Linked DNA regions of Homo sapiens: regions 2 and 3 are each linked to region 1. The links are contacts of gene promoters, found by promoter capture Hi-C in human tissues and cell types (Jung and others, 2019). All regions are on one chromosome and are shown on one strand. The core of a region is centred on a gene start or on the middle of the fragment in contact, and the rest is flanking DNA. Distances in the headings are between cores, read along the strand shown.

Evidence for each region. Contacts are between HindIII fragments. The study calls those that stand out against the background at their distance.
Region 2: a contact is called between a fragment that was not itself captured here and the fragment with the promoter of CPN1 in region 1, in 1 of the 25 tissues and cell types used here (stomach).
Region 3: a contact is called between a fragment that was not itself captured here and the fragment with the promoter of CPN1 in region 1, in 2 of the 25 tissues and cell types used here (IMR-90 fibroblasts and mesenchymal stem cells).

The regions. Positions count from the first base shown.
Region 1 is chr10:100,080,360-100,083,149 of GRCh38, reverse strand. It overlaps CPN1 (carboxypeptidase N subunit 1), which reads left to right and starts at 1,281. Exons shown (of 9, transcript NM_001308.3): 1 at 1,281-1,747. The coding sequence starts at 1,525. The HindIII fragment of the contact is 9,232 bases long and covers 1-2,790 here.
Region 2 is chr10:100,114,193-100,116,892 of GRCh38, reverse strand. It overlaps the pseudogene CYP2C23P and the pseudogene TPM4P1. Among named protein-coding and RNA genes, the nearest start is that of CPN1, 34 kb to the right of the region's middle. The HindIII fragment of the contact is 7,748 bases long and covers 1-2,700 here.
Region 3 is chr10:100,132,392-100,135,091 of GRCh38, reverse strand. It overlaps the pseudogene CYP2C23P. Among named protein-coding and RNA genes, the nearest start is that of CPN1, 52 kb to the right of the region's middle. The HindIII fragment of the contact is 4,461 bases long and covers 1-2,700 here.

The sequences.
Region 1 (2,790 bases), core at 32-2,531:
TATATTTAACCTTGTAAGAAACTGCTAAACTGTTTTCCAAACTGGCTGTACTATTTATTTGTTTATCTTTATTTTTTATTTTTTTTGAGATGGAGTCTCGCTCTGTCACCAAGCTGGAGTGCAGTGGCGTGATCTCAGCTCACTGCAACCTCCTCCTCTCAGGTTCAAGCAATTCTCCTGCCTCAGACTCCTGAGTAGCTGGGACTACAGGCGTGTGCCACCATGCCCAGCTAATTTTTGTATTTTTAGTAGAGAGGGGGTTTTGCCATGTTTGCCAGGATGATCTCGATCTCTTGACCTCGTGATCCACCTGCCTCGGCCTCTCAAAGTCCTGGGCTACAGGCATGAGCCACTGCACCTGGTCTGGCTGCACTATTTATGAGGGTTCCAGTTTCTCCCTATTCTCACCAACATTTGTTATTGTCTGTCTTTTTTATTGTAGCCATTCTAGTGGAGGTAAAGTATATTTCATGTGTGATTTTTGTTTGTTTGTTTTTTGAGATGAGGTCTCACTCTGTTGCCCAGGCTGGAGTGTAGTGGCATGATCATGGCTCACTTCAGGCCCCACCACCCAGGTTCAAGTGATTCTCTGCCTCAGCCTCCCTAGTAGCTGGAACTACAGGCATGCCATCACACCCAGCTAATTTTAAAAATATTTGTAGAGGTGGGGTCTTGCTATGTTGCCCAGGCTGATCTCAAACTCCTGGGCTCAAGTGATCCTCCCAATTTGGCCTCCCAAAGTGCTGAGATTATAGGCATGAGCCACCATGACTGGATCTCATGTGGTTTTAATTTGTATTTCCTTAATGACTAATGACACTGAACATCTTTAAATGTGCTTATTAGCCATTTGTATATCTATTTTGGTCAAATGTTTTGCCCATGTTTTAATTGGGTTGTTTGTTTTCTTATTGTATTGTAAGGATTCTTTACGTATTATGGGGGTATTATCGGATACATGATTTACAATTGTTTTCTCCCAGTCCGAGGCTAATCTTTTCCTTTTCTTAATGGCATCTGTTGAAAGATTTTTGAGGAAAAAAAGGACAAAATACAGCCATGCTTCAGAAAGATAGGCAGGCAGCAGTACGTGGGATGGATCAAAAGGGACAGAGAACTCTTTTTGAAAGTTGTAATAAAAGGAACAGGCACAGGCCAAGTTTTAAAAAATTCTCCAGGAATCAAAGGGTTATAAGCAGCTATTTATTGAAGCCTGTTTACAGTCCAGTTAACCAGTAAACCAGAATCAGTGAAACTACCCATCTGGGGAAGTGCAAAAAACCTTTCAAAAGGCTTTCCTGGATTAGAGAAAGAAAGGGAGTGAGGGAGGAGAGATGAGTGGCTATTCCAGAACGACATAAAGAATTTCCAGCCTTGGACGGACAGCTGGGAACGTCTTCCAATTTGGACTGGTGTTTACAAGCGGGAAGCTAGGTGGACCTTGGATTTTGGCGGGTGAAGAGGCTAGGTTGTTTAAGGAGGTGGGGCGCGTTTCAGTGGCTCTCTTTGAAAAAGCCCAGCAAGATGTCAGACCTGCTCTCAGTCTTCCTCCACCTCCTCCTTCTCTTCAAGTTGGTTGCCCCGGTGACCTTTCGCCACCACCGCTATGATGATCTTGTGCGGACGCTGTACAAGGTGCAAAACGAATGCCCCGGCATCACGCGGGTCTACAGCATTGGGCGCAGCGTGGAGGGGAGACACCTCTACGTGCTGGAGTTCAGCGACCACCCTGGAATCCACGAGCCCTGTAAGTTCTGAACAGCTCTTGAGGGTGTGTGGGGCAGGGCCTTTCCCTTGCAAATCCAGTAATTGGAGTGGTTTCTGGGGTGGTCCGTGGACGCCTCCGCCTACAAGGTATTATCTCTTTCTCAGCCTGTGCTATTTCCCTCTTAGCCCTCAAACTGCCACTGCCTCTGGGGAGCTATAACCCTCCTTCAGCCTTCAGATCTTTCCTCCTTTTTGGGTTCTGTTTGCTCAAAACTTTAATGGTAAAAGATGAGTCTTCTTCCCTGCTCATGTCCCATATCCCTTCATTTCCCCCATTTCCTTTCTTTTCCCCTTACTATTGTTCTGTCTTTCCCCACCCAATGGCTCAGGAGACATAGGCAAAAACAATGAGCCCTTCTAGTTCTGCCAGGAAACTTAGAAGGGTATAGGGGAATCTCTTCGGGGAGTGACAGTGTGGTATTCCAGAGAGAGTTTGGGGACTTGGGTGTCAGTTTTATTTACTGGATTCTTTTTTATTTTTTATTTTTTTGAGACGGGGTCTGGCTCTGTTGCCCAGGCTGGAATGCAGTGGCATGATCTCAGCTCACTGCAGCCTCCACCTCCTGGGCTCAGGTGATCCTTTCCCCTCAGCCTCCTAGGTAGCTGGGACCACAGGCATGCACCAATACGCCCGGCTAATTTTTGTATTTTTAGTAGAGACAGGGTTTCATCATGTTAACCAGGCTAATCTCAAACTCCTGGGCTCAGGCGATCCACCCACCTTGGCCTCCCAGTGTTGGGATTACAGGCGTGAGCCACCGCACTTAGCCTGGATTCCTTTTTTTAGTTTGTTTCTACTGTAAAAGCAATCCATGTTTGGATTAAAATTTAGAGATTAGATAAGGAAAAAAAATAATAAAACTCACCCCAAATCCCACCACTGTTAATGTATTGATGTATATCCTTCCAGACTTTTTTCTATGCATATTTAAACCCTGACTCAAACACATGTAATTGTTTCTATAAAAATGAAATTGTATTATAACTGCCCTTCTCATTTCACAATCTGTTATGGATAGCATC
Region 2 (2,700 bases), core at 37-2,536, 34 kb before region 1:
TACCTGCAGCTCTAGGGTAATCAAGGCAACTCTCACCTCCTTTAATCTTAATACTCTCCTCTCAGGATCACTTGTACTCCGACATTTGGGATATTGCTGCCTCTGACAGTTAACATTTGTAAAGCACATAGAATTTACCAAAATGTTTACATGCACACTGGGGATGTAGTCAGTCTTACATAGTGATTAAGGGTTTGGGCTTTACATTTAAACAGTTCCAAAGCATAGAGGAGGAAGAAAAGATGCCAAACCTGACCAAAATACTGCAAACAGAAACAGCCGCCAGTCTCACTTACAAATATCAATGCAAAAGTCTATTGATGCATAGGTCTGGCATCATATTAAAAATGCTATACCACTGGCTGGGCACGGTGGCTCACGCCTGTAATCCCAGCACTTTGGGAAGCCGAGGCAGGTGGATCACCTAAGGTCAGGTATTCGAGACCGGCCTGGCCAACATGGTGAAACCCCTCCTCTACTAAAAATACAAAAATTAGCAGGACATGGTGGCACATGCCTATAATCTCAGCTAGTTGGAAGGCTGAGGCAGGAGAATCGCTTGAACCCGGGAGGCGGCAGTTGCTGTGAGCCAAGATCCTGGGCGACAGAGCAAGACTCCGTTTCAAAAAAAAAAGAAAAAACTACACCACTAACACAGGAATCAGGAACATAGCAGTGGTGCAATACCAGGAAATCCATCTTAAGAAAACTGACCATATAAATACAATTTTGTATAAATACAATTTATACAAAATTACATAAATACAGATTATGCAAAATTGTACAAATACAATTTTGACATTACATGATAATCTCATTTGTACAGAAAATGCTTTTAAGAATATTTGACATCCATTCTTGATTTTTCTAACCCTTAGTAAAATAGAAATAGATGAATTTCTCTTAAGTCAATGAAAACACATCTCCCAAATTGTGCTTTTTGGTGAAAGACTGGAAACATTCTCATTAATATTGAGAATAAGATGAGGCTGGCTTACACCTGTAATCCCAGCACTTCGGGAGGCGGTGGCAGGCGGATCACCTAAGGTCAGGAGTTTTAGACAGCCTGGCCAACATGGCGAAACCCTGTCTCCACTAAAAATCCCAAAAAAAAAAAAAAAAAAAAAAAATTTAGCCGGGCTTGGTGGCCCGCGCCTATAGTCCCAGCTACTCAGGAGACTGAGGTAGGAGGATCGCTTGAGCCCAGGAGGTGAAGGTTGCAGTGAGCCAAGATGGCACCACTTGCACTCCAGCCTGGGCGACAGAGTGAAACCCCGTGTCGTAAAAAAATAAAATAAAATAAATAAATAAATAAATAAATAAATAAATAAATAAATAACAAGGCTATTTACCATTACAGTATAGTTCAACTGGAATCAGAAAAAAGTAACAAGAAATAAAACATTTAAAAGATGGAAGCAAAAACTTTAGTTGCTATCATCGTGCCTGAAAAACCCAAGAAAATTGACTCCTATAGTCAGTAGGAACAAATCCCCAAATCAACAGATATCGTGCAAGGGCGGGTGACCTCATCGCCCCGACGGCAGCCGGGCCGGGGCTGGGGGTTGGCGGGGGGTGCGGGGCGGCCCCGGTGCAGGCAAAAGTTCAGGGGCCGAGGCGCGGCCGTGCAGCTGTCGTCCGAACCCGGCCGGGTCCGGGGCGCCCGCCGCAGGCGGTGAAACGCAAGATTCAGGCCCTGCCGCAGCAGGCGGACAAGGCGAAGACTGCGCGCAGGGCCTGCAGCGGCAGCTGGACTGGGGGCGCGAGCGGGGGGCGCGAGCGAGCGGCGCGAGAAAGCTGAAGGCGATGTGGCTGTCCTCGACTGACGCATCCAGCTCTTTTTTTTTTTTTTTTTCTTTTTTTATTATTATTATTATACTTTAAGTTTTAGGGTACATGTGCATCCAGCTCTTTAAGGAGGAGTTGGACGGGGCTCGGGAACGACTGGTCACGGCCCTGCAGAAGCTAGAGGAGGGGGGAAAAGGCTGCAGATGAGCGTGAGAGAGAATGAAGGTGATAGAAAACCGGGCTATGAGGGATGAGGAGAAGATGGATTCGGGAGATGCAGCTCAAAGAGGCCAAGCACACTGCGGCCGGAGGCTGACCGCAAATAAGAGGAGGTAGCTCGGAAACTGGCCATCACAGAGGGCGAACTGGCCAGAGCAGAGGAGCGTGCAGAGGTGTCTGAACTAAAATGTGGTGACCTGGCAGAAGAACTCAAGAATGTCACTAACAATCTGAAACCGCCGGAGGCTGCATTGGAAAGTATTCTGACAAGGAGGACAAATACGAAGAAAAAATTAAACTTCTGTCTGACAACTGAAGGAGGCTGAGATCCGTGCTGAATTTGTAGAGATAATGGTTGCAAAACTGGAAAAGACAACTGATGACCTGGAAGAGAAATTTGCCCAGGCCAAAGAAGAGAGCGCGGGCTTATATCAGACACTGGATCAGGCACTAAATGAACTTGACTGTATATAACCAAAACGGAAGAGCCTTGTTCCAGCAGAAACTCCGGAGCTCCGAGTGTCTTTCTCTTCTCTTGTAAGAAGTTTCTTTTGTTATTGCCATCTTTGTTTTGCTGGAAATGTCAAGCAAATTATGAATACATGACCACATATTTTGTATCAGAAGCTTTGAGCACCAGTTAAATCTCATTTCTTCCTTTTTTTAAAAATGGCACCAGCTTTTTCAGCTCTA
Region 3 (2,700 bases), core at 137-2,636, 52 kb before region 1:
TCAACTGACTAAAAAAAAATTCAGAGTTTCCCATGACCCTTTCAGATATGATAATTTGCTAGAACAACTCACAGAACTCAGGAAGTTGCTATACTTACAGTTTTATTCTATAAAGGATACAAATAGAGAATCCCATAAGGTGAGGTCTGGGAGGCTCTCAAACATAATGTGTTACCCCCCTGGCACACCAATGTGTTCAGTAGCCAGGAAGCTCACCTGAGCCTCAGTGTCCAGAGTTTTTAGTAGGGTCTCATTACATGGGCATGATTGATCGAATCATTGGCCGTGTCATTGAACTCATGAACTCAGTCTCCAGCCTCCTCTCCTCCATGGAGGTTGAGAGTTCAGGCTGATATCACTTGGCTCAAAGCCCCAACCCTCTAAACATATGGCTGGTCTTTCTGGCATGGCTGGCCCCCATCTTAAAACTATCCTAGAGCCCACCTGAATCATCTCATTGGCACATACTCAGGTGTGATCCCAGGGATCCGCTATGTTCCAAAGACACTTTTTTTTTTTTGAGATGGAGTCTCGCTCACTGCAACCTCCACCTCCCAGGTTCAAGTGATTCTCCTGCCTCAGCCTCCCAAGTAGCTGGGATTACAGGCATCTGCCACCATGCCCAGCAAATTTTGTATTTTTAGTAGAGACAGGGTTTCACCATGTTGGCCAGGCTGGTCTCAAACTCCGGGCCTGAAGTGATCCACCTGCCTTGGCCTCTCACAGTGCTTGGATTACAGGTGTGAGCCACTGCGCCCGGGCTACCAATGGCACTTCTAACACTCAGGAAATTCCAATGGTTTAGAAGCTCCCACAAACTATGAACAAAACATATATAATTGTTTGTTTGTTTGTTTGTTTGTTTAATTATATGACAACAGATGCTCTGGTAGCTCCACTGAGATGAACATCAGAAACAGACCCCAAGTGTCCTGCAGGTTCATGCTGTGAATCTAATTGAGATAAAAACAATCTGAGAACCTTTGAAATAAAGAGTTGTTACCCAGAGGTCTCAGGGTTGAGGGAGCTGGAGCAGTCATGCTTGGGGTGTAGTTTCCCATGACACACAGGATGCAGTGGCACTGTGGCCACTGCTGTGGCCACAACAGCAGACAATGACTAGACATAAAAATCACTGTGCTTTCAATGACAGCCTGGGCACCAGGGGGATGGAGAGGAGGAAGGGTCAAATCAGGGGTGTCACGCACAGGGAGCTACAATGGTACCAGCCATGTTTTAGTTCTTCAGTTGGATAATAGGCTCACAAATAATTCCTTTTGTTATTATGCTTCAAAATTTAGATGTGTTACATATATTCCTTTATATGTATCAAGTAACACGCAATACAAAAAATTTAGGACAGTCTGAAAGTCTCCTCTAAACCACTTAAAATTATAAAATTGCAAGTCCTGGAAAAGTAGAAACTAAATCCTTTCAAAGCATATTTATGAATCATTAGTTAAATACAATGCAGTGTATTTAGTGCTACAAGAGAAGTGAGTTTTGGTCTCTCTCACCTAAGATCAAGGTACATTTGTTTACTAAAGAAGCACCCAATTCTTACCACTGAGTTTATGAAAAAAGAAAAATAAAAAAAGAAGTAACCAAGCTCTCCTTCTACAACCTCCCTTTTTGAAAAACAAGTTGATTATATTGGGTATGCATGACCTTTTACATTAATTTTAAAACTGGAGATGGAGGCCACTGGGCTAGATTGCTCTGAAAAGGGGGAAAATTGTTGGTCTAAAACTCGCAGTTTGGGTAACTCTGAAAAAATTGGTTTCCAAACTTTCCTTAAAATTCTTGTTACCACTCCTTACTAGCCTGTAATGGGAACAGATAATTCAGCTCTTCCTTCCACTAACCTTTCTATTTTAGAAAATAACAGAGAAAAGAGCCATTCATTGATATTTTAGTTTTCCTTCTCTATTAGTTCCCTAGGGCTGCCATAACAAAGTACCAAAAATTTGGTGGCTGAGAACAACAGAACTTAATTGTCTCACAGCTTGGGAGGCTGGAAGTCTGAGATCAAGGTGTCGGCAGGGTTGGTTCCTTCTGAGACCTGTGAGGGAGAATCTGTTCCGTACCTCTGCCTTAGCTGCTGGTGGCTTTCTGGCAATTTTTGGAGTTCCTTGGCTTGTAGGTGCATCACCCTGAGCTCTGCCTTCATGTTAATGTGACATTCTCCCCGTGTGCATGTCTGTCTCTGTGCCCAAATGTCCCCTTTTTATAAGGACGGTCATATTGGCTTAGGGCCCACCTGTGACCTCATTTCAACCTGACCTCTGTAAAGATCCTGTTTCCAAATAAGTTCACATTCACAGATATTGGGGGTTAGGGCGCCAACATTTTTTTGGGGGGGAAACAATTCAATAAGTAATACCTTAGTAAATGGAATAACTGCTAAAATACTAAATAGCTTTCTGAGATCTTTAATTTTTTTTTGTTATTTATTTATTTATTTATTTATTTATTTATTTATTTATTTAAGAGACAGGGTCTTGCTATATTGACCAGGCTGGTTTCACAGTCCTGGGCTCAAGCAATCCTCCTGCCTCAGCCTCCCGAGTAGCTGGGACTAAAGGCAAGTGCCACCACACCTGGCTAATTTTTGTAATTTTTGTAGAAATGGGGTCTTACTATGTTGCCCAGGCTGCTCTTGAACTCCAGAGCTCAAGCAATCCTGCTGCCTTGGCCTCC